Regions from separate parts of the Homo sapiens genome. Here all the other regions are linked to region 1. The links are contacts of gene promoters, found by promoter capture Hi-C in blood cells and fetal thymus (Javierre and others, 2016). All regions are on one chromosome and are shown on one strand. Each heading gives the region's core, a stretch centred on a gene start or on the middle of the fragment in contact. The rest is flanking DNA. Distances are from core to core; before and after follow the strand shown.

The links. Contacts are between HindIII fragments. The CHiCAGO score rates a contact against its expected background, and 5 or more counts as called.
Region 2: a contact is called between a fragment that was not itself captured here and the fragment with the promoter of FAM135B in region 1, in 2 of 17 cell types (M2 macrophages and M0 macrophages). The highest score is 6.8, in M2 macrophages.
Region 3: a contact is called between a fragment that was not itself captured here and the fragment with the promoter of FAM135B in region 1, in 3 of 17 cell types (M2 macrophages, M1 macrophages and M0 macrophages). The highest score is 14.5, in M2 macrophages.
Region 4: a fragment that was not itself captured here is called in contact with the fragment with the promoter of FAM135B in region 1 in 3 of 17 cell types (M1 macrophages, M2 macrophages and M0 macrophages); the score reaches 7.6 in M1 macrophages.
Region 5: a contact is called between a fragment that was not itself captured here and the fragment with the promoter of FAM135B in region 1, in 3 of 17 cell types (M0 macrophages, M1 macrophages and M2 macrophages). The highest score is 7.3, in M0 macrophages.
Region 6: a contact is called between a fragment that was not itself captured here and the fragment with the promoter of FAM135B in region 1, in 2 of 17 cell types (M2 macrophages and M1 macrophages). The highest score is 5.5, in M2 macrophages.

Annotation. Positions count from the first base shown.
Region 1 is chr8:138,495,360-138,500,285 of GRCh38, forward strand. FAM135B (family with sequence similarity 135 member B) reads right to left here and starts at 1,902. Exons shown (of 20, transcript NM_015912.4): 1 at 1,312-1,902. The HindIII fragment of the contact is 6,997 bases long and covers 1-4,926 here.
Region 2 is chr8:138,137,228-138,142,153 of GRCh38, forward strand. It overlaps FAM135B (family with sequence similarity 135 member B), which reads right to left. Exons shown (of 20, transcript NM_015912.4): 17 at 3,971-4,122; 18 at 1,759-1,869; 19 at 1-33. Among named protein-coding and RNA genes, the nearest start is that of FAM135B, 360 kb to the right of the region's middle. The HindIII fragment of the contact is 516 bases long and covers 2,581-3,096 here.
Region 3 is chr8:138,177,899-138,182,824 of GRCh38, forward strand. FAM135B (family with sequence similarity 135 member B) reads right to left here. Exons shown (of 20, transcript NM_015912.4): 10 at 637-792. Among named protein-coding and RNA genes, the nearest start is that of FAM135B, 320 kb to the right of the region's middle. The HindIII fragment of the contact is 635 bases long and covers 2,319-2,953 here.
Region 4 is chr8:138,194,157-138,199,082 of GRCh38, forward strand. It overlaps FAM135B (family with sequence similarity 135 member B), which reads right to left. Exons shown (of 20, transcript NM_015912.4): 8 at 3,360-3,513; 9 at 1,102-1,151. Among named protein-coding and RNA genes, the nearest start is that of FAM135B, 300 kb to the right of the region's middle. The HindIII fragment of the contact is 1,275 bases long and covers 2,232-3,506 here.
Region 5 is chr8:138,213,674-138,218,599 of GRCh38, forward strand. All of the region lies in intron 7 of FAM135B (family with sequence similarity 135 member B), which reads right to left. Among named protein-coding and RNA genes, the nearest start is that of FAM135B, 280 kb to the right of the region's middle. The HindIII fragment of the contact is 269 bases long and covers 2,638-2,906 here.
Region 6 is chr8:138,238,323-138,243,248 of GRCh38, forward strand. FAM135B (family with sequence similarity 135 member B) reads right to left here. Exons shown (of 20, transcript NM_015912.4): 7 at 4,620-4,746. Among named protein-coding and RNA genes, the nearest start is that of FAM135B, 260 kb to the right of the region's middle. The HindIII fragment of the contact is 4,969 bases long and covers 1-4,926 here.

The sequences.
Region 1 (4,926 bases), core at 652-3,151:
GTCCACTTTCCTCTACACCTAACCATCTGTCTAAGCTCTGATAACATCATCCATATTATGACATAAATCTCCAGATGAGAGGTTGGCCAAATCACATCCCCTTGGGTAACATAACCACACCATAAATTAAAAGCCCAATTAAAGAACATAGCCTTTTAACTGGGACTTAGACTGTCCCCCGAGGCCACGATATAAAGGAAGAGCCCTTTCAAAGTCAATGGCTGCCTATCCTGGATATTATTCAGAGGCCTACTTACCTACATGCACGAACTTTCAGACCCTAATTATTCACATGCTATCTTCCTTCTTCCGGGGCCCTGGTCCCAGCTGATCTGAGTTTGTAATCACTCCCCAAGCTCTGGCCCTCTCTCCAGCCTGCAGATGTAGTTAACAGTCCATCACACTGTATGGACAGCCCAGGTGCCTCTCGGCTTTGACACATCACTTAACATCAAGAGCATCATAACCTGATGGAAAACAATGCCCCCTGGTTCAAATGGACAACTGAAGCGGTGTCTCCAGCTGTCTGAAAGCGAGATAGTTTGCCAGTGGCCAAGGAGCAAGGATTGTCACTATGAGCGATGTGATTCTTGTTTTGCTGGCAAAGTGGGGTGGGGAGCTAGAAATGAGGTGGGGAGAAGGGGAGGGCATAGTCTTGACTGCTAGCTCAAAATTTTATTTCTATTCCCATCCTATCCCTAATAGTCAACGGCAATAACATGATACTCCTGTGTCCCAAAATAATAACAGTTACTACTTGCCTCGTCTAAACATCCCCTCCAGTGACTGGGCTTGAAGCTGGCTCTACAGATCAAGAGCTGGTCCCTTTCCATGTCACAGCTGAGCTGCAGTGTCCCCGCACACCCCTGTCCCCAGCCAAGCCACAGGAAGAACGGGTCTGTGCATTCGCCTGGATCACAGGGAATCGCTGCCACTGTCCCCTCCACCCCAGTGCGGTCTTCTCCTGAGCCTGGCCCCCGGGTTCCCTGGCTCCAAGGACCCCAATGGCCAAGGTCTGCATGCGCCCCCTCAGCCTCCATCTGGGACTCCTGGGGGGAACCCCTCATTAACCCAGCCTCTCCGCTCCTTTCACAGCCCTGGCCCTTCTTATCCCCTCAAGACCTGTCCAGATGTGCAGCAAACCTGGAGGGCAGAGAGACTGGGGAAAATCGAGGGAGATAAACCACATTTTGCGGCGGAATCGCTGTTCCGTGACAGAAAGCCATCCAACTGGCAACCACGCTTGCAGAAGCGTCACTACCACCGACGAGAGAGTTTTGCAGCTGCCGACCCCGAAGCGCTCTCACCTACCTGTCTCCACTGCAGGGCTCCCCTCTCTCTCCCCCGGGGGCCGCGCTCCTGGGTCCCTCTCTCTCCTCTTTCGCCGTCTCTGGCCGCCAACAGTTGCGGCGGCGGCGGCGGCGGGCGGACTGGGGAGTCCGCAGCACCTGCGAGCTGGTGTTGGGTCCCCGCGGCGAGGCTGCCTGGAGGAGGAGCGAGCGGATGCTGCCCTCGCCCGCCGCCGCCGGTGCTGATGCGGTTGCTATGGTTATGGAACCCCGCAACTGCCCCCCTCTCCGTGCAACAGCTGCCCGGCCGCGGCCTCCGGGCAGCCCCAGCGAGCAGGCGCCAGGACGCGAGGCTGTCAGCGCGGTCGGGGGAACGCAGCCGCCAGCGCCGCAAGAAAGCAAGGACCGACCGGCTGCGCCCGCGCCGCTGGGCTGGCGCCTCCCGGGCTGCGCTCACCTCTGGCGCCCTCACTCCTCTCCTTCCTCCGCCGGGACGCGGCCAGACCCTCCGCGCCGCGCCGCGCGCCCTCGCGGCCGGGAGAGCCCGCCCTGCTGCTCCCGCTGGCTCCGCTCCGCAGCCGCTGCGCACCGCGTGGGTAGACGCTGCGCGACTGGCTGGCGGCGCGGCTCACGCGCTCCCACCTCGGTCCCTCTCCGCCGCGAGGCCCTGATGGGAGCCCGGGGCGGGCCGCCCGGCGGCCAAACCCCGCCCGCTCGGCCGCCCGGGTGCCCAGGGCGCAGGCTGCGGCCCCGCGTGCGGCCCTCCCAGACTGACCGGCGCGAGCATGCTCAGTCCCCGCGGCGGGGCTCCCCTCTCGAGCCAAGACCCCAGGCCTCGGGCAGGAAAAGGGTCCCTGCAGATATCCGGGGGCGGGGCGCGGCGGAGAACTGGCTGGGAGGGGACTGTTGAACTTGGAAGAGAAGCCCAGGCAACAAGTAGATGCCTGAGAAAGGGTAAAAGCGCTGAGCAACCCATACCTCCAATGCGAAGTCAGCAGTGGCCTTCAACCAGCCAGCCGGCCCGTCATCCGATGGGCTCCTCACTTCATGCTGAACGTGGGGGTTCACAGACGTGTGAGATTCTGTCCACGGAGGAGGGAGAGGAAGATTGGGGAGGGTTAAGCCAGCTCCCGTCTACTGAGCATTCTTAAGGGGCATTGGGAACTCTAATTATCACCACCACTGTGCTGGCAAGTTCTCGTGGCATGCCTGTGACAGATGACAAAACAGCCTTAGAGAAGGAGCCAAGACTGGGACTCGGAAGCCCAGTGACCCGTCCACTAGACTCGGCTGCACTAACTCCACCCAGGAGGAGGCAGGGAATGGAACCAGGCATTAGAGGATGACTATGTCCCCCATTAGACTGGGCTGCACTAACTCACACCCCAGGAGGAAGCAGGGAATGGAACCAGGCAATTGCAGTTGGCAGGAGGAGTCTCTAACCCTGTCAGGCTGGGGGCAGGGGCAAGTAATTGGGGAAAGATACCTGAAAAAAAGGTATAAGAACAAATGAGTGGGGCGGTGAAGGGTAGAGAAGACTGCTCTTTCCAGGACAAGAGGAGCAGGGTACAGAGGCCTGGAGGCAGGACAGAACAGCAGGAACCTAGCAGCAGCAGGCAAGGAGAGGTGAGGCAGGCGAGTGGTGAGGTTTACAGGGCAGGCACTGCACACCAAAGGCCTTGCGATCCAAGTGAAGGGGTTGGAATTTGACAATGTGACCCTTAGGATGGGAAGGGAATGGGGAAGGTGGTGGGGAGGAGGGCAGTGAAGCAGTTTAAGCAGGAGAAAGGCTGGGTGGGAATGAAGGGAAGATCACCTTAGTTGAAGTGTGTGTGGTGCTGGCTAGGGTGGGGATTAAGGCTGCAGAAAGAGGTGTCCTAAGGAGGCTGTTGACATAGTGGGCCTGGGCAGATGGAGGCTCTGAGCTATCTACCCTGCTTGTCCTCCCCACAGCACCCAGCAAGCCCAGGGCAATGCATACCCTCAGTAAATGTTTGGTGAATGGCAAATAAATATGAATTTCTCAATAGAGAAAATGGGTGCTTTTCTTTTACAATATTTGTCTCTTAAATGTGTTCATAACCATATGGCATTTATTTTGCTATTGACATTGCATTTTTATGCAACCTTATTTTTGAAAGTCAGTGCAAGCACTCATTATTTTCCTCTGCATTTTCTAGTCCCCAGCAGTAGAGATATGCCAGGAGCATAGGATTTACTTGTATTGGATGTATTGTCTGGATAAAACAGCTCCATGATTTATTAAGTGAAAAAGCAAAGTGCAGAATAGATAAAATAAGATAATATTAAAATAAGACAACTGTTGTGAAACAAGGAGACAGATACACATATTTGTATTGCTTGCATTGGCATAAAAATACGCTAGAAGGCTATGTAAGAAACTTGGAGAAGTAGCTATTAGCTATGAGGGTGAAGATGGGTGGAAGAACTAGGTTGACGAGGTTAGAGTGAGAGTGAGAATTTTGACATACACTATTTTTTTGTTTCTTGAGACAGGGTCTTACTTTGTTACCCAGGCTAGAGTGCAGTGGCACAATCTTAACTCACTGCAGCCTTTAACTCCTGGGCACAAGCAATCTTCCCACCTCAGCCCCTCCAAGTAGGTAGGACTACCATGCCTGGGTAATGTTTTTATTTTTTATAGACCTACCACCATGCCTGGGTAAAGTTTTTTATCTTTTGTAGACCTACCACCATGCCTGGGTAAGGTTTTTATTTTTTGTAGAGATGGGGTCTGGCTATGTTGCCCAGGCTAGTCTCAAACTCCTGGGCTCAAATGATCCTCCTGCCTCAGCCTTGCTGGGATTATAGGTGGGAGCCACTGCACTTGACCTCAACATACACTTTTATAAAACATTTTGATGTTTAAGCCAAAAAGAAATTGCACATATATGTAAGTGTGTATGTGCATATATATAAACACACACATACGTATGTGTGTATATGTGTGTGTATGTGTGTGTGTATATATACATATACACATAATCTGTATATATAATCCATGACTAGAATCTCAGTGAATCTTGAAATAACCTCAAAGGCAACATGCAACGTGTGCCAGTGAGACCCTATGTCCCCAGAGATGCCCCCAATCCTTGTTCCCCATGTGGTAAAATAGTATTATGAATTATGACTGCAAAGTCTTCTTCAAACTGTGCTCATGGACTGCCCGGCATGACATTAATCAATCAGCTGCAGTGATGCACTGTTGGCCCCGAGATCCCCTTACCCATTGTCCTCTTAATGAATGGGCCTTGTGCAAGGTAAGGCCCTGAACAGCTGGGGCCTGGGGGAGGTCTGGAAGGGAAAGCCTCTGCCACTGCCCAGGTTGGGCCTTGGTGGAACTGACTCAAAAGCAGCAATAGCCCTCCACTGTTATCTCCCACCAAGAAAATGTCCCACTGCCCATCAAATCACAGAAGCCAGAAACCTACCATCATCCTAGGCTTCCTAACCTCTCCCTCTCTCCCGTTCTCTCGACTCTTCTCATCTCCCTCAACCGAATTAATTGCCAACGTCTGCCAATTCCACCATGTAAATAGCTCTCAGAGTCATCTATGACAGGGGATCCCTGAGAGATTTTTAAAAATCTTCTTCAAAAAGGGGTCATGAGTGA
Region 2 (4,926 bases), core at 1,589-4,088, 360 kb before region 1:
CAACCAGCACGACGTTTTTAAAATACTGCAGCCCTGTAAAAATTAGCCAGATGAGTGCTTTTTACCCAGGTAGTTTCAACTTCAACACCCTCTGGAAATTTGCACAAATTTCCAGACTTGTCCTATAGAGAGAAAAAATGTTGACACACCACACACTAGTGTCATCACACAAGGACATTCTGTCCTGAGGTTTAACAATGCACAGCAGATGGCATAGAGGTATCGCGGGGGCCTATGGGAGGTTGAGAAAAGAAGTCACTAAGCAGGGGCTTTGCGTTTGTGAGGGGAGATGAAGCCTGCTCTCATCAGCCATGAAAGCTAAGGAGACACACAGAAAGCTACTCTGGACACAGAGAAATAAGCAACTAGAATGGGACCAAAAAAGCCTTTTGGGGATAGAAATATTAAGGGGTTCATAAGGAAAAGTCAGTCTGACTATCTTGTTCTTCCTCCTCAACTCCAGCACCTCTCCTAATTCCAGCCTTCACCACGTCCCATGCTTTAGGAAAACAGCCTCAGAACTCACCTCTCTGCAGCCAGTCTTGCCTTCCTGCAATCTGTCCCCACAATGCAGACAGAGGGACCCTTCAAATTAAACATCACAGTGTATCCCTGCAGGCCTCAGAGCCCATCGTGAACTTCCTGAGCACTGCAGACTACCCGGACACTCCATCTGTACTGAGACTGTCCTTCTCATTCCCCAGATCCTGCTGGGTGGGCGGCTGTCAGCTCTTAGCTATGTGTGCCCTACTGAAGTGTGGGTCCCCTCATCAGACATCACACATTGGGGGCAGCCTACTTCAACAGCTGGCCAATACATGGGCGAGGAAGACAAAGGTGTAATGGTCAGCCCCTCCCCTTCCTTCAGGACAGCTCTCCAGGGCCACCCCAGCTCCTGCACCCCTGATGGACTCTACAGTGATCACACTGCAGTCCCACCTTCTTCTGCCAAGCCCTGCCTCCCTCCTCCTCCTCCACAGGAGATAGCTCTAAGAGCTCAACTCAACACACAGAGGCAGAAAGTAGGAAAGGAACTCAGCCAGGCTCACAGATGAGCCCGTGGCTACACCAGATTCACAGGCACAGAGGGATCAGCAGAGTCAGTGTTTACAGGACGGTGGAAGATTGTGACCAAGAACAGACCCTGGGCCAGGCCAGCTTGTGTGGTGGGACTGAGCAGGGCAATCAGTCAGCTGCTCCACTCGCCGACTGGACATGGGGACCACTCGGCAATGATCACCATTACTGCTGTCCTCTGTGGACATTCCCATGTAGCAGGTAGGGTCTTCAACACCTCTATGCACTTCCACATGACAGAGAGAGGGTGCAGGTATCATAGCAGGCCTGCCTGACAATGACCCCCGTCTCCCACTGCACAGTCAACATCAGTGGAAAATGTTGCATCTGCCTTTTTTGTAGATGGGCCTGTACCTGGGTGAAGCTGGCACACAGATCTTAGGCCTATGCAATGAGAACATTGAAAAACTGGCACAAAGTGGAAGCTACAGCTTCTGGCTATTGAAATGATCTTACACACACCTTGGCTCAATCTCTCACGTGCCATATGGGCAATGGGCAAGAGGAGCTGAGTTCCTGGTAGCTGTTGGCCTCCCAATGAGCCAAAGAGGCTTTGAGTGCTGGGCCTCCTGACTAGGCCCTTCTGTGAGTGAATCAATGTAGCATTATATCTCATTTGTGTCTCAGGAGTTGAATCCCAAGCTCAAACTCATAACTGCAGCTGTGGGGGAAACCACTGACCTGTTTTTTGGCTTAGTTGGTAGAGGAAACATTTGCGCAAATCAGCATTATCCCTGAAGGTCAGCTGCAGTAGAGACCCGGATTTCTTCAGTTTCTGCATGAGCCATAAGCCTAGGAAGACAAAAACAAAATAAAAATCAAAAACACAAAACAAAACAAAAACTAACTGGGATGGAATTTTGGTGAGATGAACGTTAAACTGAATTTTAGTTAACTTGAAAATAAGAGAGAAGTAGGCATACTAGCAAATAGTTGGGAAGTTAGAGGTAAATTTGTCCTCTCACGTACTGGTGGAAAGGACTTAAATCATCCTGCAAAAATGATGACAGGACAACAGCCTTCGGAGTAAGAAACTACCCACACTCTTCAATCCAGTCAATCTCCTTCCGAAAAAGAAGCCTAGGGTAATAATTTTCAATGCGAAAAGAATATAAAATGATCCTTACAGATACATTTAGGATACAGTAAAGCTAAAATAAATGTCTCACTTCACAACTCATCTGTTGGCTGGGCATGGTGGCTCATGCCTGTAATCCCAGCACTTTGGCAGACCGAGGCGGGTGGATCACCTGAGGTCAGGAGTTCGAGACCAGCCTGGATAAAATGGTGAAATCCCGACTCTATTAAAAAATTAGCCAGGCATGGTGGCAGGCACCTGTAATCCCAGCTACTTGGGAGGCTGAGGCAGAAGAATTGCTTGAACCTGGGAGGCAGAGCTTGCAGTGAGTCGAGATTGCACCATTGCATTCCAGCCTGGGCGACAAAAGCAAGACTCTCTCTCAAAAAACAACAACAACAACAAAAATCTCATGCGTTTAGCTAAGCTTAGGCAAACACTAACATTGATGAGTGTAAGGATTACATAACCACAACAAGCAAATTAATCTGATAGAAACACAAGGAAATAAGCAAGCTATGGTATGTACATATATTACACTGACTGCTACGTCAATGTGTGTGCACAAAGATAAGTAGAATGAAATATATAAAATTACTCTGGATATGCTAGATTGGAGATATTATTGGTAAAGTCTGTCTTTTTAAAAAATATTTTATGATGCTGCAAGATTCCTTTATAACTGTGGGGGAAAAATGTAGTTTAACAAATTTGTTTCTGTCCAAAGAATGGCTTCCTTGGTTTGGGAGGAAAGACAGAGTGCAGAGGAAAGGACTTCCATTTGTTATGTGCCATTGTGTCGGATAACTCATGTTCACAAGTATGCCATAAAATAACTTAAAAGCAAACTAACTAAACTGACCAGGCCATGAGGAAACAACGTTAGTGTGGGAGAGGACAGGGGACAGTGGCAGAGGCCTGGAAGATTGCAGGGACAAGGAAGCTTATCAGGGGTGACCCTAATGCCACATAATGGGTTTGAACAATCAGGGACTACTGAGGTAGTTGTTAAGAACATGATTTAATAAACGATTTGTTATTACATATAAAACTCAATGCCCTCCTTGGGCTTCCATACACCAAACCATGTCACCTCCTCAGTAAAATCTCATGAGTAGTATCTACAAGGTCTACAGGGTAAGTCTAACATATTCTGGAGTCAGTCGAGGTCCTTCTTTGTCTGACTCTTGCTGATATATTTAACCTCCCATAGATGTTAGTCAACCTTATTTCCTTCCCCTGTGTAATCTTCAACAATTCTATGATACACATATGCACATATGCACCTACACACCATATATATGTATACATACTTACATTGTGTACATGCTTGTACACATACATATATGTATACATACATATACACAAACACAGATACACACACACATAACCTCCATTTTACAAACAGGAAGACTGAGGAGCACAGAGATTAAATGTCTAGGCCACAGTCTCCCTCAAGTGTCCTGGTCAGGACTTAACCACAGGTTTGTCATGCAGGTGGCCTGATTCAGAGTCCCTGTTCTCTTCATCACAACACCGTGTCTTGTCAGTCTTTTCCAACCAGGACCCCAGAGACATTGCCTTTTTTTCACAGAAATTTGAAGGCAGAAATGATCCTGGAAAACATCTAGTGTCACCTCACTCAGCCCCCAGACACAAGGGCCACACCTCTAAGGCCAGGACTCCTCCCTCCATGCCATGCTTGGAAAAGACTGCACAGTCACAGGGTTCCAAGTGGAAGTACCTGTGCCCGGTTTCACGCCCCAGAGGCCCCAGATTAATTCTGAGGAATGACGAGTCCTAGAAGAATCTTACCTGTACTAACCAGGGTGCTGTTGTTGTACAGGGTTCCCAGGTGAGGCCCAGAGAGTGACAGGAACGTGTGGAGTTTGTTGAGGTAATACCGGAACCGGGGCCGTGTGAGGACCGATCGGATGATGATGTTGCCAAGAGAATGGCCAATGAAGCTGTGGAGAAACAGAAGGGGTACCCATGAGTGTGACGGTGAATGCTGCTGCCCAAGAGTGCAGTGCTGGAAGCATCAGGGGCCATTGTTCTCCACCTCCCACTGAATGTAGGGGAACTGGCAAAGAGAACAGGGACTGCCAACTCAACCTCATCAGGTTTCAAAACACTGGCCATGAGAAGCCTGAGATGGGGTCTTTGTGAATGGGAGCTTTGTGCCCAGTCAGGGGAGAAGTGTGGGCATTTCAGCCAGCTTCATGCTGCTAGAGCAGCCTGCTTTAATTCCACCTGGGGGAAGGGAAGGTCCTTCCTGAAATGCACCTCTGAGCATTGAAATCTCCTGGTCATTCACAGGATCAAGTCCCAAGTCCTTATCCTGCTTGGGAGGCCATTCATATACGGATGGCCTCACAATGCCATTCATCCTCTCCTTCACCCGCTGTGTATATATTGAACCACCTGCTCACAGCCCATGCTGTTAGACCCCCTCCTGCAGGCTCTGCTCCAGCCATACTGCTACTCACAGGCCCACGTGTTCAATGAATCATTATTCTCAAGTTAAATACTTATTTATTGAGAGCCTATTATATGAGAGGCTATACCTCCCCACCTCTACTCATGATGAGCATAAAACCATCCAAGAAAAGAAATCAGTGTCACCCTATGAAACTGCCTCACCTAGCTTTTCTTTTATTCTTTTTTTTAAAAATCTAACCTCTATAGGCTTCATTTGTGGAATAAAGAAGTAATATTTTGTATATGAAGACTAAATGGGATAATGTATATCAAGGGATTAGCACTATGTC
Region 3 (4,926 bases), core at 1,386-3,885, 320 kb before region 1:
TGTACCTAAGCTGGTGGCAGAGAAACACACAGAGAGCAATGTCTTACATTAAAAAGCACTTTTTCAGCTGGTGCAGTGGCTCATGCCTGTAATCCCAGCACTCTGGGAGGCTGAGGCGGGCAGATTGCCTGAGGTCAGGAGTTCGAGACCAGTCTAGTCAACATGGTGAAACCCCATCTCTACTAAAAATACAAAAAAAATTAGTCGGGTGTGGTGGTGTGAGCCTGTAATCCCAGCTACTCGGGAGGCTGAGGCAGGGGAATTGCTTGAATCAGGGAGGTGGAGATTGCAGTGAGCGGAGATTGCACCACTGCACTCCAGTCTGGGTGACAGAGCGAGACACCATCTCAAAGAAAAAAAAAAAAAAGAAAAGCACTTTTTCCAAAATACTTTTAATATTTCTTGTGATAGGCTCTGAAATCCTCTGAGATTGCCAAGGCAAGTATTCTATGAATGACACAGCAAAGGCCTGAGAGGCTAAGGAAGTTCACAACGCCACCCTGCACGGTCATGGTAGAGACACGAAAGCACGAAGATCTAGAGGCCAATCCTAATGCTTGATCTAATTCTCATAAAGGTTCCTCCAAAGAAATCAAATGCATGTGATCAGAGAATGCACAGCAGTTGGCCACTCACCCTCAGGGTGTGGTGTTCCTGGGTGAGATAAGTGGTCACTTGGGAGTGCAGAGTGACTGTGTCCAGGAACTGGGTCCACAGAGTCATCATGTGGGACGTGAGCCAGGCCAGATCCTTGCTTATCTGCTCAGCGATCTTCTCTGGATTGTTCAACATCTGGAGAGGCAAAAAAGGTGGTATTCAAGGCTCCTGACTCCATGAAGTCAGGAGCAGTCTTCTTCCTGAAGTCTTTACTGACTTTTCTGTTTTCAATAAAGCACTCTCCTTTCTCTGTACATCTGTAGTATTATATATTACAACTCATAGTACTATAGGATCATGTTATCACGTTTGATCTGGAAGCTAAGACAGCAATGGCAACAATAAATTATTGAGGTAGTTCCTATCTATAGAAAAACATCCAAAGCCCTTAGTCTAGCAGGCAAGATTGCCCACTACCTAGTCCCAGTATATCTTTTCCATTTCATTTTACTTTCATGTATGTTCTGAGTACAGCTTACTCTTAGATTTCCATAAACATCTTGCACCTTGAATGTTTTCCCTCGCTCTTCGTTTATCCTGGATATCCCCTTTCAACTTTTCTATCCAAGCCTTCTAATCCCATCACCACAAAACTCAATTCACCCTACTTTTCAATGCCCAGAGCCAACAACACTTGCTTTATGACGTCTTCACAGTTGCCCCAGCTGGAAACCTTTTACTCACATTCTCCCCAAACTCTTCAAGGTACCCCAGATCCATCTACTGGACTCTACTCTGTATCCCATCAAATTCTGGACGCAGTACTTCACAGCAGTTATAACTTCCAATCATCACTATCTCCTATGTGTAAGGTAGAGTACTAGGCATTTGACGGTGCTCCCTATCTAATCCTGCCAGATACCCTTTGGTAGAGTTACTGTGGCCATCCAATTACAGAAAGTGAAATGAAAGTCAGTAAAAGAATGCCCAACCTCACATACAGCAGGGATTCAATGGAAGGGATGTATGACTATGAAGCCACATCACCATGTCACCTTCGCATAGTAAGTGTTTAAAAAACGTCCTGAGAGAAGACAGCATCTCTGTAACCTCAAAGCACCTGAGGACTGAGGCAATTCATGCACGATAGGTGCTCCATAGCTTTTCTCCACCATCCTCCTCACACTACTCCACATTTGTTTTTGTTTTTCTTTTAGTGACAGGGTCTCGCTCTGTCACCCAGGCTGGAGTGCAGTGGTGTGATCATGGCTCACTGCAGCCTCGAATTCCTGGGCTCCAGCAATCCTCCAATCTCAACCTCTGGCTGGGACTACAGGTGCATGCCACTGCACCCAGACAACTTTTTGTAGAGACGGGGTCTCACTGTGTTGCCCAGGCTGGTCTCGAACTCCTGGGCTCAAGTGATCCACCTGCTTCAGAGTGTTGGGATTACACGTATGAGCCATCACACCTGGCTTCACTCCACATTTCTTACGGGAGATTCCTGGTTACATTAACTAAAATGTAGAGGAGTTAGACTAGAAAGGGCCTAGAGGCTTTGGGAGAAGACCCTTTGGACAGAAATGCTTTAGATAGCTACAGTTTAATACCAGGAGAACCATCTTTTGGGGGAGTAACTCGAATTCTGGAGAGGTGAGAAGAGAGGTCACATCTCTGAGGATGGCAGGAAGCCAGTTGCCAAAGCCTGTCACTGACCTCTAAGCTTCCTCACTTATTCAAGCATTTAATCCCAGGCACATGTTTAGAATAAGAGAGAACTCAGAGATGAACAAGAGAGGGTCTCTGTCCGTAGGGAGCTTTGTTCAATGGTGGATATTTCCACTCATTAATGTGAGTTAACAATTAAAAGTGCCGCGGAGCTTTCTACTATGCACAATAGACCAGGGACACACAGCCATAGCCACATCCAATCCCATTCCTTTCTCTTCGTTGCCCTGTGCCTCAGTTTTCCCATCTGTAAAGTGAGTATGCAAAACAAATTACTGCTTTTGGGTGTAAAATATGAGGAGATCCAAGTCCAATGCCTAGCTTGAAATGCTGGAATTTTCTTCTGCTATTCTTAGACTGAAGACTAGTGCTAGATAGAGACCAATTGGGTAAAGTGAGACATCCAAGAGTAAGAAAGAGGGAAGGAGGAGTTTGGCACACAGTAAGGTTCTGTAAATGTTGCATATTTTTGCTTTATCATGGATGACTTGCTTCCAGATACAGAACATCATTCAGCCACAGCATCATCTCTGAGCTACTTCTTCCAAAAGGTAAGATAAGTCTGTGATGATGACACAAGCTATGAAACCCCAAAATGAGGGAATCGCCTGCATTTTCTTCTGATGGAAGCTTTACTTCCAGCACTGGCTCTGGGGCAGGCAGGGGTCAAACAGGGAATGGCCATTCTTGGCCCATTCCCATACATCATGGTCAAAAGTGTTAAGTAAAAACTGGGGCCGGGCATGGTGGCTCATACCTGTAATCCCAGAACTTTGGGAGGCTGAGGCAGGCGGATCACGAGGTCAAGAGAACGAGACCATCCTGGCCGACATGGTAAAACCCTGTCTCTACTAAAAATAAAAAAAAAATAGCCGGGCATGGTGGCAGGTGCCTATAGTCCCAGCTAATCGGGAGGCTGAGGCAGGAGAATTGCTTGAACCTGGGAAGCAGAGGTTGCAGTGAGCCGAGATCGCACCACTACACTCCAGCCTGGAGACAGAGTGAGACTCCGTTTCAAAAAAATAAAGAAGAAAAGAAAAGTAAAAGTTGAATGGGGAATATGGCGGACAGGGTCAGTCATTACAAAACCTCCTGGCTAGAGAGTGAGGCTTTTGGATGAACTGTAAGTGACTTCTATATAGATTCTTGAACCAGTGCCTCTCACTAATAAGACCCAACCTTATGCATCAGCACGTGGCACAACTGCTCCTGAAAATGCCCCCCACCTCACCTCTGCCCACTTCCCATCCTGGCCCAGTGCACTCCCGTTCCCAGCCATACCAACCTGCTGGCAGTGGGCTGCACACACACCTGGTCCTCTCCAATCCCAGGCCCTTGTTCAGGCTGCTGGTCTCCCTGCGCACCTTCCCCCGTCACCTTCCAGTTTCCTTTCTTCTTCTTTTCATCACTATGGACTTGTCTGTCCTCTACCAGGTAACCATTTCAGAAGCCAATTTTGTGTCTCCTTGTTTCTTTTTTTTTTCTCTAAATAATTTCAACTTTTGTTTTAAATTCAGAGAGTCCACACACAGTCCATATTGCTTCTGATGACTCTTCTGAACCTTCTCCAATGCTCCGCGTGTAAGTCTAAGATCCTTCTTGACGTCTACTTGACCTGCACGGGCACCACTCATAGCACCTCCACCCACATGTTGCTGGCTTCACTTCCTACATCCCCTGCATTTTGAGCTTCAGCCTTCTCACTATTCCCAGCCCCAGCACAACAGCTGATAGAGAGTGAGGGTCAGTGACTCTTTACAAAATGAATAGGTGGCTCGGTGTCCGTGGGAGGTGTCCCAGGCCTCCGGAACTCAGACTGCCTCTCCCGGCCTCCTTGTTCCCTCACTCACAGCACCACTACCACGCTGCCACCACAGTGGCACCGGCAAACACAGCACGAATCCTGAGCTCCGCCACCAGAGTGAACAAGAGAAAAAAGAAAAGCTATTCATTAAATGTGTCTTTGGGAGGATTATGTTGCCTCAAGTTGATTATAGAAATGGCTTTAGATAAGGTTAAAGAAGCTTCTAATTAAGCCACAAGAGGACTTTTCTACTCCACAGATGCCCGAGCCTGTGCAATCACAGATGGCGAGCTTGGAAGGGTTTTTTCCAGAGACCGAGGAGGCCCTTTACACTAACAAAGAGGCAGCTGCAGCCCAGAGCTGTCATAGCTGAAACTCCCTGAAAAAAGGCCCTGCCATCCACGCCTGCCACACTTTCACCCTCGTCACCTGGGTGCTAACCAAGCACCTTTGTTCACTCCCCTACTCCCTTGCTCTGCCAACTGAGTGCTGGTTCTGTCCCAGCGGTGTGCCGAGCTCTGGGGAGCCAAACATAAATGCATACAGTCCAGGAAGAGGTGTATGATCGTGTTATAGCTATTTAATTAGATAATTATAATATACTTGTAAACTACTGTGCAAGAGATATATACTGAGTACTGTAGAAAGGTCATGGAAGGCTTCCTGGAGGAGGTGATACTTACATTACATCTTCAAGGTGAATAGACATTAAGTCAAGAGAAGCCTGCTTTACATTCCATGAACAAACCGCGCTCTCTCACTGGTCCTCAATTATGGTTGCCCATCGGAATCACTAG
Region 4 (4,926 bases), core at 1,619-4,118, 300 kb before region 1:
GCTGGCCCTGCATTTTTGATAATCAGTGCTTGGCATGTGTTTCCCTGTTATCGCTACAAGCCAAGTCCCACCCCTTCTCCCAGGCTGCCGTCCAACAGCCCCTCCCCAAAGGCCCTCCAGCTCTAGGCTCCCAACACCCTCCTCTGTCTCTGCCTCCGCATTCCGCCCTCTCCAGGGATCTCCTCTGCATTCACTGTGAGACTGGATTTTACTAACTTTGTAACATGCCCTAAAGCAGGGGTGCTCAACCCTGGCTGCACATAATATTCATCTGGGGAGCTTTGAATAAAAACACAGTATCTGAACTCCAATCCCAGATACTCTGTTTCAGCCAGTTTGTATGCCCAGGCTCAGGCAAAGATGCATCATTAAAGTTCCAAGGATGATTCTAATGTACAGACAAAGTTGAGAAACACTGGTTTAACAGACAGAGGTGTCAGTTTGGGGGATGAGACTTTGAGTCCTGCTTCTAGTACTGATTAGCTGTGTTAGTCACCCTGGTATAGACTTCTTTCCAATCTTGATTTGCCTCTTCTTCATAGAGAAATAAGAGTACCCACCCAGATATCTAACACAAGGGGGATGTAAAAGTGTTCCAGAGATTGTAAATAGCAGCAGCATGCATTTGTCAAATATTTATTCAGCCTTTACTCTTAATGCACGCTTGATGAGGCTTTGTTGGCAAATGCATGTGACTGTTTTCATGATCATCACTGACTCTAGCCTCCCTGCCATGTCTGAGGCCATCTGTGCACAGGTACAAGATTCTGTCATCCACAGTGAGAAGCACTGAGTTAACCAGTCAACAAACGTTTGTTCAATGGATGGGTAATGGACAAATACATATGTGTAGCCTAAGCTTCGGGGAAACAAAAATCTGTTAACATGTTTAGTTTTTCCAAAATATCTAGCAAGGCACATACTTATAGAACACAGTGATGTAGGGTAACAGAATGTAAGAATATTTCTCCAGCTTGGTATCTAGAGTGAAGTTACAAGTGGTGTCTTTTCACTTCTGTTTTTTACAGCAAGCAAGCAACTGCATTTGCCTTGCAAAACTACTGCCATTCATTCAGACCCCAGCGCCAGTTCTCCAATTACCTGTAGCTCTGAGCACAGCTGAGAAAGTGTTTCTTCAACAGCAAGGGCCTCTAGAAAGAAAAAATAAACTGTGTGATTAAATGAACCCACACTGAAATGCAGCAGTTGCTAATTAAATGAAAAAGCAAAAGTTTCACATTGGCATTAACGTCACAGAGACAAACACATTGCTGAGGACCTTCTACCTATTCTAACTTCCTAAAGGGACTGTGCTTATCAGGAGAATGAACCTGATTGGAGCCATGGACTGGACTGAGCACTAGATAAAAGCCAATATCACCTCATGCACACGGTTATGAGAAGCAGTACATCCCAAATTCATACAGCACTTTGTGTGGCCCAGAGAGATTCCACGTTTATTTCTGTTTTTGCAGGTACACACACACACACACACACACACAAACACACACACACACAGGTATACATCTGTGCATCATATATGGAAGATGGATTTGAATCTCTATCTTACAGATAAAATATCAGAAGCCCTGAGAACCTCCTGCTCAGCTCCACCAGCTCTGATACTGAAGAATGTGGCCATCTTATCAGCAGAAACCAGGTGGCCTCTGGCTATTTGTTTTAATGGTCACAGTTGTGACTGGGTTTGAACTTTCCTCTGGTTCCATGATGCTGTGGTCAGTCATTTGCACACGGCTCTGGCATGGATTTTAATTAAAGCATGCTTGCCTAGCTGAGTGGAAACAATCCCTTAGCAGCTTACGGTCCTTGCTGATGACCTAATTAGTAGACACCTCTCTACTTCACCGCTGACCTCAGGTCCCTGAACCCCGCAAGGCAAAATGAACTATTGATACATTAGTCACGGCTATGTATCCTCAGTGTCTAGCACAATATCTGACACATAGTACATGTCCAGTAAAATATGATGAGGGTGTGAATGAACAAATAAATTCAGCTCCTTTGGATAAAATATAATATAAAAAGTTGTATCAGGAATCCAACTGCTACTGAAAAATCTCCATTTTTCATTTGAGCTATATAAAGTCACTCTGATTCTGTGCAGGTCATTCCTGCATGCATAAGATTTGAACTTGAAAAAATTCAGTGATTGCATGATTCAAAGAGTAGTGCCTGAGTACAGGATTTGTATATGATGTGAGAGCTGACAAAGCTTATAGTAAGAAGGCTCCAGATTCAATTCAACAACTATAACCCTGTACCTACTCCTTTACTCTACATACCGGAGAGAGTGTGGCAGGGATCTGAGGGGAATCAGCTCTTAAAGACCTCAGTCTATTTGGGAAGCAAAACATGCAAATAAATTTTTTACGTGATGATTTCAGTGCAGCAATGAACAATGAACAAGGCCATTGACCCAGTCAAAACCACAGTTATCTCAGCAGTTGAGGTCTAGGGGTACATATAGGGAAGTCAATGTACCCAGCAGGGTTCTAATGTTGAAATGGGTGTTATCGTTGAAAAGCAAGCTGGGGACTTCGCCTCTGTTCTAGAGTCAATGAGGCCTTATTAGAGAACTTTGAGCAGAGCCAGAACATATCACCTATTTTTACTGAGTGGGACATGACACAAAGGACCCTGCCCCAAGGCATCAGCACAGGATCCCTGAGCTGTCATGGTTCTGCCACACATTACTGTGTGATGCTGAGCAACGCTTTTACCTCTCTGAGCTTCAGGTCCATCGTCTGTCAATCAACAGAGATTCAAGCCCACTGATTTCCATGATGTCTCATCTTTGGAAAATCCATGTGCAAAAATCAACTGATCCCCAGATAACCAAATGTAATGGATACTAAGAAGTTTCTATAATCATCCAGCTCAAGCATATATGTATGCATATGTGTGTGTGTGTGTGTGTGTGTGTGTGTGTGTGTGTGTGTGTATATATATAGTTTTTATGAGGATTGTTTTACACTCTTGTAAGTTACAATTCCATAATTACAGCTTAATTAAGAAAAGGCTATAAACCAGCATTTTCCTCTAGAAAGCAACCTAAAATTATGCAGTGGAGTGGCAGGTGTGTAATAGGTACTCAATAGATGTCTGGCAGATGAATGCATGAGTGAATGAATGTGCCTTGAGGAACATGTGTCTTCTCTTACTGCATTTGCATTTCCCAGATCCTCTCCTGGTAGAATAATAAAAATCACAGCCCAAACCTACCTGGACCAGGGTTATTCCTGTGACATTTACAAAAGCATGCCAGCTTTTCCCCATCCCTTGTGTGGAGGAGGCACATGAGCTGCTGGGATGGGCTTGCCCCTGTCCTGGGCCCTTACCCAGCTCCGTGTGTGGCAGCTCTGGGATGTCCCGCATGATCACCAGGAAGTGGAGACGGAGACCCCGGTAAGCGTGGAGGAGCAACAGGCACAGGTCTCGGTGCCACTTGTGTGCGTGCTGCATGCAGTTCTCAGAGGTGATGTAGAAGCTTCCCTAAGGGGTGAAACAGAAACAGAGGCTGAGGAATATTGCACCTGGCCCAGGCAGCACAGGGCTGTGATGCTCCATCCACCCGCACCAACATTCACAAAATGTTTGGAGGTTCAGGGAAGGAAGCAGACCCCATCCTGAGTAAAACTGGAACATGGTTGAAGATTCCAGGAAAAAGAGAGTCCTGAGCTGGAATTGCTTCTTTATCCCTCCAGGCAAGACAACACTGAAATCTGCCACACCTTTGTCTTATATTCAAATTAAAATAATAAAATAGCAACAATAATAACGAATGATCATGAAGGTGATGAGGACATTGGCCTCACAGGTTTGAGACAATCGAGTGGCCCCACTTACAAGCTGATATGGTTTGGCTCTGTGTTCCCACCCAAGTCTCACCTTGAATTGTAATAATCTCCACATGTCATGGGAGGGACCCAGTGGGAGGTAATTGAATCACGGGGGCGGGGTTTTTCCATGCTGTTCTCATGATAGTGAATAAGTCTTATGAGATCTGATGGTTTTATAAAGGGCAGTTCCCCTGCACATGCTCTCTTGCCTGCCACCATGTAAGACATGACTTTGCTCATCCTTCACCTTCTACCATGATTGTGAAGGCTCCCTAGCCATGTGGAACTGTGAGTCCATTAAACCTCTTTCCTTTATAAATTACCCAGCCTTGGGTATGTCTTTATTAGCAGCCTGAGAATGGACTAATACACAAACCTTCTTTCCCCACTACTGCAGGGTGCACTATAGAGGCCATGGGACAGGTGGCTGTGGGCTCCTTTGCAGAGAGAAGAAATTTAGAAAGACCCTTGTAGCAGGTGGGTGAGCAGTAGGTCGTGCTGAAAAGGAGGAAAAGAAAGTGTCATCGTAATGTAGAAAGAAGTTGTGAGGTTAAGTAACCAATGCTGAAAGCACACCTGTAAACAGCTCTGCATGTGAGCATGCAGTGTCAGAACACTGTACATTATATTTTGTTTGTAGAAATAGAATGGATTAAACTGGTACAATTACAAAGTAATTTGTCCAATGAGGAAAAGACACCTAAGTCTACAGTGCACTTGGAGACCTAGGCATGATGAAAAGGAAGGAACAGGACAGTTTTTTTCTTGCCAACTCAACAGAGAAGGATGTCCTGAGGTGAATTTCAAAGAGATTTGTTCTTAGAGCAGAGAAAGGAATCGTGTGGGAAAAGGCCTGGGCACAGAGATGGGAGTCCTTGAGTAGTATGCTCGTGCCCATCTACTGTTCACATGGCCGTGACGGGAGGAGGCCGTGGCTCTTCATGTTCCCAGGCCACCTTGTCTGCCTGCTGGAAGAAACGCCAGGTGAGGAATTGGTGGCATTTCACCCTTGGCTTTTGCGAGTGAGTCTGCACAGCCAATGACTGGAGATCCTTCTGCCTTGCTT
Region 5 (4,926 bases), core at 1,522-4,021, 280 kb before region 1:
TGGATTTAAACACTAGAATGATGCAAGAGGTAAAAATAAATGAAAATGGACTGGGGGGTTGTACAAAGGAGGGAAAGTCCAATGAACTCACTTAGAAGTAGAGGGGAAGCAGCAAGCTCCGCTAGGCTGGAACCCACTTAGAGGACAGTATCAAGGAGGCTCCCACAATGAACAGGAGAGCCTGATGGATAGGAGAGCTTCTGTAGCCCTGAAGACTTGTGGCTGGAAGTCTGCTCTCAACCCAACTGGACTCAACATAACTTTTGGTGGTGTTCAGGATGGCTTTGTGGGGGCCTTTCTAACCCAGGGACCAAAGCCTGATCATCCTCCTGTGGTTTCGTGTTGACCTAATTTCTCCAAATCCAGCCTGTTCTGTCCCTGACACCAGTCTCCCATCCCAACACAACTGAGTCTATATTCTATGCCTTCACGTTACCAAATCCATTGCGCAGACAGCCAGGTAATTGCCCCTGGCTTTTTTTCAACAGAGATCCCAGGAAATGAGAGTCTATCTCCTCTTGGGAACTGCTCTGCCATATCCCCGACTCAAATACTCTTACTATTTCTATGCAAAGGTAATAAACAGTTCTATCAAGAATAATTATGATTTGTGTTACTATGAATAGCCATATTTTAGAATTAAGCATAATACACACACATAGTATGCTTAACATGGTGCATGTATGCATTTATTCAAGAATCACTTATTGGGCATTGTTTCTGGACTAGGCACCAAGCTGAACTCTACTAGAAAATGAAAATATTATTTGTGTATGACTTTGGGTTCAAGATCTTTGCAGTTTAGCATGTGAGGGAGCACACAGACTAATGATTTTAGGAGTCTGATAAGTGCTATGATAAATTTATACATAAATGCTATTGCAGCACAAATAAAGATGTCTGCATCATTCTGGGGTCAGTCAAGAAAAACACCATGTAAAAAATAATCCTGTTGTCTAAAATACATAGTTAGCCAGATGGACACATAGGTGAAAATTCCAGGCACCTAGATAAGGAAAAACCTACTGCGGAAGGGAAAAATAAAATTGATACGATTCTAGCAGAAAGTACAAGGTTGAAGCTGAGCTTAGACTCAGAGGCATAAAGCAGTATGAAGGTCTCTCTTATTTGTCATGATGATGCATGTAAGATTCAGCACCTCAAATTAGCCTTAGGTGAAGATGGAGCAGAGGGAAGAGGATCAGAAAAAAATAAGTAAGTTGGGAGTCTGTGCACTGTCTGGATAAGAAGGAATTAGGACATATTTGCAGGCAGTGGAAGAAGGGGAAGAGGCAAAAAAAGCAAAGACACAGTTTGTAGAAATCAGTCACTAACGTAGACATAAGAGAGAAGAAGGGATCGGGGATAATTCTGAGGTTTCCAGTGACTCAGACAACACAGATTTTTCAAAAAGTTTTAGATCCCATGAAGATGGACATGATTAAATATCTAGACATGATTAAATATCTAGAGTCTAACAGCCTGGGCTCAAACCCTAGAACCACCATCCACAATCTACCTAATCTTGGGCCAGTTAGTTATCTCTCTATGCCTAAGTTACCTTATCTGTAAAATGAGGGAAAACTAATAGATTCCTGGTAGGGTGCTAGTGAAGAGCAAATTAGATAACGTGTGCAAGAACTTAATATGGGAGATAGAAAATAGTAAATACTCAAAATAATATTTTAACTGATATTATTCTATTAATTGAAAGTATGGACTCTGATCTGAATGTTGGCCATAGAGCCATTTCCCTTATATCTATAAACTCACCACCATGATCCCTGGAAATAACTATTACATAGCAAAGAGAACATTAGACTTGGAATCTTGAATCTAGCATCTAATATTTACTAGATGAACAATCCTAGGCAAGTCACTTTCAGTCTCTGAGCCTCAGGCTTCCATTCTATGACAGAAGTTAGCAAGTTGCAGAGGCGTTATCAGAAATATTAAATGAAACAAGAGGATGAAAGTGCTTTGGCACAGACAGAACATTATAGAACCCCCAAATCATGTTGCATTAATTGATACATCAATAATAATTGTCAGAAAGTACAACTAAGGCACTTTGGGAAGGTTGCATGGGCACTCCATTCTCCGCACCCTCCTCCCACCCATGAATGGCTCAGATCCTACAAGTGATGCCACGCAAAGATTAGAGAAGCCCCCAGAAGATATTCTGGCAGCCATGAGCAAGCATCAGTTTCTTTGGACATTCTCTCGGGAATGAGAATGAGATCAGCATAGAACAGGATTCTCTGTGCTACCCAGAGAAAGCAATTAATGAGTCCGAGGGGATGGTAAAAGTCAGTGGAAGCGATATTCATTTCCAATAACAAATACCAGAACAAACTATGTTACAGTGAACAGTACAGTGTACATGCTACTACACCTACAGACAAGGAGCCTGTCTGCACATGGAACAATCTGAAGACTTGGTTCCAATAGGGTTTCCTTGTCATATCAACTCCAGGAATAGAAGATCTGCAGTGGAATGGTGGCAGTGAGTTGCTGGTTGCCAATTAAAATCTAAATAACTACAATAACAATTTTTATGAAGACACTACCAATAAGACTTAGAACCGTTGGAGGATAGCTAGATAGAAGAGGACACATCTGATCAATTCTGAGATAAGCTTTCCTCAGACTATCTTTTAATAACATTCACACTCATGATATTTATTGAGTTCTAGGTGCTTACACAGATGCTGAAGGTTATAGCATGAAGGCAGACATTTCTGCCTTCACCAGGCCTTCAGCCTGTAGTGAAGACAGACAACTGTCTGCAGTGAGATTGGCATTGCACTAATGGAGAAAGGGAAAGGATGCAGGTAAGGGGTGCTGGGTAATGCCTGTCTGAGCCAGGAACATTCATTCTGAATCCTAAAGAATGGCCAAGAGAAAGCTTCAAAAAGTCAGTCATCTGATGTGCTGCCTTTCTCACTCATTTGGGCAATAAATACCTGAAGTCGTCTGATGTGTTTATGAACAAGTTGGTGGTTGGAAAGTATTACTGTTTCTAAGCCCCATTTAAGAGCCAGTGATGGGTTGCTCATTAGAGAGTGAAAACCTGCTCTCTAAACTCTGATTAATCCACAGGAATCTTTGACTTGGTAGTCTTTGCAATAAGCATATTCATATAGCCTAACCCATGTTCTTGAAAGACAGCTACAATCCTAACCATCTTATAAAAGGGGAAACGAGGCATGAGGACACATAATAAGTAGGCTACAGAGCTTTCCAGGGCTTTGGGCTGTGGAGTCTACCAGCTTCTTCACTGTATGGTTATGCGACTTTGGTCAAATAGAAACCCTTGTTGCCTTGGTTTCCTGATGCACATGATAGTATAATAATAGTCACCTCGAAGCTGCGAGGGATAAGTGAGATAATCTATGTAAGCATTGCCTGTCACCAAAATGACCAGCATCATCACCACCATCATCAACAGCATCATCACCATTATCTAATGCCTGACGAATATGCCCACTTAGGTCAAGAGTCTGGAAATTTTGTTCAGAATCTATATTTATGTAAATAGTAACTAAATGAAATAATGTGCTTCATGGCTAGAATTATCAATATACTTCTGGATAGTCATATCTAGACAACAAAATGGTATAACTGAAAAAGTTCTTAGCTTAAGAGTGGGAAGAAGTAATTTGGAATTCCAACATTGTTCTCTGTAAGATGGGAAAAAAATATCTCTTGCCTCTAGCCTTCCATGTGAGGCTATTCATTTGTTCTCTGATATATTTCTTTTTTTTTTTTTTTTGAGATGGAGTCTCCCTCTGTGGTCCAGGCTGGAGTGCAGTGGCACGATCTCGGCTCACTGCAAGCTCCGCCTCCCAGGTTCACACCATTCTCCTGCCTCAGCCTCCCGAGTAGCTGGGACTACAGGCGCCCACCGCCACACCCAGCTAATTTTTTTGTATTTTTAGTAGAGACGGGGTTTCACCATGTTAGCCAGGATGGTCTCAATCTCCTGACCTTGTGATCCGCTCGCCTCAGCTTACCAAAGTGCTGGGATTACAGGCGTGAGCCACCATGCCCGGCCGATATATTTCTTTATACAACAGCATTCAGTGAGTTTCCTCCTATGCGTGAGGCGCTGAGGATGTATCAGTGTTCATGAACTACCTGGTCCTTTCCTTCACGGAGTTTTTGTAGCAGTGGAGACAAAGTAGGAAGAGAAAAAGTTGAATGTTACTATGAAACAGCCATGGGATGAAGACAAGATACTGGAGGGATTCTTTTAGGCCATCTCATAAATGTAAGGAATTCTTATTTCTGTATCAAAAATTACCTCTGTCTTCCAAACAATGAAACTATTAATGGAAGTCATATTTAACTCCCACCTCTTCACACTAAGTATAATTGGTAGACTTTAATGGGTGAAAATTTAGTATTTATGGAAACATGATAACTAAGATGACTTCCAAATGTGTGAGCAATGAGACTTTAGGGGAAAATAAAAATGGAATCCATGTAGATGCAGTTCTTGAATTAACCAAAAAATGTCTGTGCATATGAGCAAAGATAGAAATAATTCTACTTCTATTACTTCTAATTAAAGCTCTACTAAAAATAGTGAGAAAAATAAAAGCAGGAGAAGGAAAAAGATGAGAGCTACCATTTATTCAATATTTACCATAAGTCAATCACTCTACACATTAATCATGAGAACGACCATAGAAGTCACATGGGGATAGCAATATGTCCTGCTCACAATCACATATTAATTTAGTGCAATACCAATATAGAAAATAGTGAAGAGTTCAGAATTATAGACATGGGTTACAATTTGAGCTCTAATAATTTCCCTTAGAAAAGATTCCTGGCGTCTCAGATCCCCTGTTTGCTCCTTTACAGAGTGGGACTCATACTTAGAAATGTTCATGGATGTTAGAAAAGTTAAAAAGATGA
Region 6 (4,926 bases), core at 1,204-3,703, 260 kb before region 1:
TGTGAGCCAGGCATTAGTATATCCTTTGACTGATAAGCCAAGAGTCAAAGAGGGTAAATAATTCCCCTAGTGTGAAGCTGCTGGTTTCAGATGCAGAGGGAACATAAGCGCTTGCTCCACCAACTCTAAATGTGGAATGTCTAGATGTCAAAGGTGCTGTAGGAAAGAAAAGAGGCCACGAGGGGAGAGGGGCCAGGGCTAATGAGAAAAAGACATGGCCTGTCTCAGCAACCCTTACCTCCCTGTGATTTTTTACGCCAATCAGCTCGTATTGCTATGAAAGTCCAGTTTTGCAAATGTCTCTGCAAGGAAAGGCTTATTTTGAAGGGAACACCTGTTCTCTAATCCTTCCAGCTGATGCTACAATCTGTGCGGATTCCAATGTTATTTGTTAATGCGCTGGGCTTCTCAGGGATTTGGATACAAAGCTCCCAGGGGAGGTGGAGGGAGTGGATTTTATTCTTTGCTTGGCAGCACTTGTCTGGTGGGAAGGCACAGGGTGGGTGCACAGCACTGAATCTGCATAATTGGATGGGACTCAAATGGAAAATGCACAGGAAAAGAATCAAGTCCTGAAAATAACCCATTGAGCTAAACTCCATGAGCAAGTTCAAAGCTAAGCACTCACAAATAAACCATTTTATCTGAGTCTGGTCAAAGACAGGGATGTCTGCTTTGACACACATCCCCAAAAATAGCCAAGAAGAGAAATAAAAAGAAAATGCTATACTGTATCATGGGCCTAAGTCTATTTCTGTGATGTTTTTATACATATTAACTTCTGAAATCCTCCCTAGAAGGTAGATGTGATCCCATTTCACAGTTAAGAAAACTAAGTTTCCCAGTCCCACCAACAGTGTAAAAGTGTTCCTGTTTCTCCACATCCTCTCCAGCACCTGTTGTTTCCTGACTTTTTAATGAGTGCAATTCTAACTGGTGTGAGATGGTATTTCATTGTGGTTTTGATTTGCATTTCTCTGATGGCCAGTGATGATGAGCATTTTTTCATGTGTCTATTGGCTGCATAAATGTCTTCTTTTGAGAAGTGTCTGTTCATATCCTTCACCCACTTGTTGATGGGGTTGTTTTTTTCTTGTAAATTTGTTTGAGTTCTTTGTAGATTCTGGATTTTAGCCCTTTGTCAGATGAGTAGATTGCAAAATTTTTCTCCCATTCTGTAGGTTGCCTGTTCACTCTGATGGTAGTTTCTTTTGCTGTGCAGAAGCTCTTTAGTTTAACTAGTTCAACATTTGTGGAAGACAGTGTGGCAATTCCTCAAGGATCTAGAACTAGAAATACCATTTGACCCAGCCATCCCATTACTGGGTATATACCCAAAGGATTATAAATCATGCTGCTATAAAGACACATGCACATGTATGTTCACTGCGGCACTATTCACAATAGCAAAGACTTGGAACCAACCCAAATGTCCATCAATGATAGACTGGATTAAGAAAATGTGGAACACATACACCATGGAATACTATGCAGCCATAAAAAAGGATGAGTTCCTGTCCTTTGTAGGGACATGGATGAAGCTGGAAACCATCATTCTTAGCAAACTATTGCAAGGACAAAAAACCAAACACCGCATGTTCTCACTCATAGGTAGGAATTGAACAATGAGAACACTTGGACACAGGAAGGGGAACATCACACACCAGGGCCTGTCATGGGGTGGGGGAGGGGGGAGGGATAGCATTAGGAGATATACCTAGTGTAAATGACGAATTAATGGGTGTAGCACACCAACATGGCACATGTATACATATGTAACAAACCTGCACATTGTGCACATGTACCCTAGAACTTAAAGTATAAAAAGAAAAGAAAAGAAAACTAAGTTTCCACAAGAGTGAATGAGTTCCCCCAAGCCACATAGCATTTATCATAGGAGGCATTTGTAACCAGAGTCTGCTTTCTACCGCATTGTAACAGTCTCCGAGATAGAAATTTGGCTGGGCCGTGCTCAGATATGTCATTTGTAACAGAGTCTGGTGGACTGAAATGGTCTATCATGTGTGCCATTCCATCCCACTTCATACCAGGTCTAACGTTCTGAGCTGGGCACACACACGTCAGCAGAGATGCCCCTCACTCCACAGCTGCCTCCCATTTGGTTACTGGCTCCTGCCGTGTGAAGCAATGAATGGTCTGTGTGGCCTCAGTGTCTTGCTTCTCAGCTTCCTACATGAATATGATTCACACATTTGTATCATTCATTCCCCACACTTTTATTGAGCACTGAGTATGGCAGGCATGGTGCTGGCCCTAGGGATGGGGAGCTGAATGAGTTGGTTTCTATTCCCAGCCACTCAGAGCCCAGTGGAGGAAGGACAGAAATGCCTAGAGAATTGAAGAGAAAGTATTTCTTTTTAAGAAATCAGAGAGTACTTTCATATTAGTGGTGGCACCTGACAAAGTCTTGGAGGGTGTACAGGGAGTTGCACATCAGAGTCCCTCAGGACAGAAACCTTCTCATAATCATCTTCACAACCTCCTGTGGCAGCCTCAGCAAAGGCCCTTGGCTTGGGAGATGAGTGTTGAAAGTGTTTTGAATTGATCTGTGACCACTGACATTCCCTAACGCCCCAGGCCACATTCCCTGGAAAACAGAGTTTGAGTGGAAGATTTTCAGGCAGTAGATTCTGACGTTCTGAGGGCCAGCACTGGCTCTGAGACTCTTCAGTCTCTACAATGGGGTCTACTGAAACTCTGGGTGCCAGCCCACGTGGGGGCTGAAGGAAGGAAGACTGGACATAGGGAGAAGCTGAACTGTGATGTAGTCACAGCAAAGGCTTCGGCCGACCACGGGGAGCTTTGCCTCAGTGATGGTCCTGTAGCAAAGGACCCACAGCAGGGACAGTCCAATGACATGCTACAGGGCTCACTGCTTTCCACTCGCTTTCTTACTCATTCACTTCCTATGTGCTGGGCCCTGCGTCAGTGCTAAGGACGTCAGGTTCTGAGAAGCTCAGTGGTTGACTGAAGTTCTGCATCTACAAGTCACCGGAGTCTACCCTGGAACTGGTCTTATTTGGCTCTAAAATCTGCTCCTTCCATGGCACAGAACCCCATTCTGGCTTCAGGTCCCCTCAGCAGGTTCTTGACAACTCTTTTCTTTGCTTCTCAGGACCATAAAATCATGTGACACAGCAGCTTGGACAAGATGAAGACATGAGTTGGGCAGCTTTTGCCACCAGACCTCCTGGCTGGGTCTCAGAGCTAGCAAAGATAACATCACAGGAGAGCCAGCTGAGTGCATTACCTAATATTCTGAACAGTCTGTGCACAGAGCCTGACTGTATAGGAGGATAGAACACCTCTTTTGCGGGGCTGACTGGGCATGGACAGTTTATCACACTTATAATGTGGGCTACTCAGAAATTAGTAGTGATAGTTACTATTAATGTGACAGTTACTTTTACGTGTCATCTTACTTGGGCCACAAGGTGCCCAGACGTTTGGTTGAACATTATTCTAGGTAAGCCTGTGAGGGTATGTCTGGATGAACTGGTCAATTGAATAAAGCAGATAGCCCTCTCCAACATGAATAGGCCTTATCCAATCCATTGAGGGCCTGAATAGGACAAAAAGACTGAGTGAGAGAAAACTGTCTCTCTTATTTATTGTCTTTGATCTGGGACATCAGTTTTCTCCTGCCTTTGGACTTAGACTTGCAAGGGGCCTTATAACACTAGCTTTCCTGGTTCTGAGGCCTTTAGCCTTGGACTGGAATGATACCACCTGCACTCTTGGGTCTCCAGCTTGCTGACTGAAGATTTGGGGGCTTCTCAGCCTTCAAAATCATGTGAGTCAATTACTTATGATAAATCTCTTTGTGTGTGTGTGTGTGTGTGTGTGTGTGTGTGTGTGTGTGTGTGTGTGTGTGTTCTATTGGCTGTATTGGTCCTGTTTCTCTGGAGAACCCTGAATAATACAGGCTGTTTATTTATGAGTAGGCCACTAATAAAAACATAGCATATACTGGCTTGGGAGAAATATGAGCAGAATCATACCCTGTGTGGTTAAAGCCCTGCACATCACAGAAGAGCAGGGGATGTTTCCTAGGATAAAAGAACAAGGGGAAGGACAGGATATGCATATTTAGTTAGCAGCTAGTGAGTATTGGATACCGGGCTAGGAACTTTACATTTATTACAACATTTGGGTACATATAACACTCCATGAGATTATTAGCTATTGGGGAGCCCACTCTACAGGTGGGAAAACTGATGTTCAGAGAGTGCACAAATGAAAGCGGGAGCCAGGTTTTGAAACCAGACATGGCCTTCAACGTTATCACATAGTCTGAGTGGCCCCCTCACAGCACAGCCTCCTGACCTACAGAGAACCATATTCTTCCAAGAGACCACATATAACAAGTATCATATGAAGACCATATTCCCTGTATCTATCCCAGGGCTTGGCCTTAGAAATATGTCTGATAGAGCTTGTAGTGATAAAAACAAGGGGTGGGAAGATGGTGAAAGGAAGGGTCAAATTAGCAAAAATCTCTGAAGGGGATGTTTCAAAGAAGCATGAATCTCATAGAACATACACTCTGCAAAGTAAAGTTTGAAAGTTTTGAAGCAACTGCCCCACACAGGCCTTACCTCTGAGGAAGTCGGCTTGCAGTACCCAGCTCCAAAGACCAAGTTTTCCAGAGAAATGATAGACTGTTCTTGTCCGGTGTCTGGGCCACCTTTACCAAGCCAGGAGCCTCTTCCTGGACGAGTAAAACTAAACAAAAGATAATTGAAAGGGTGAAAAAGGAGGTAAAGAAAGTGATGGTGCCATTAACTCAGCCCCTTTGAGGAGTGTTCCTGTGAAGCATTTGGGATAAGTCATTTAGGAGTAGTTCACCCCCTAGGGAGTGTTTGCATGTGACATTTGTGGATATTTTGATGATAAAGAGGGTAC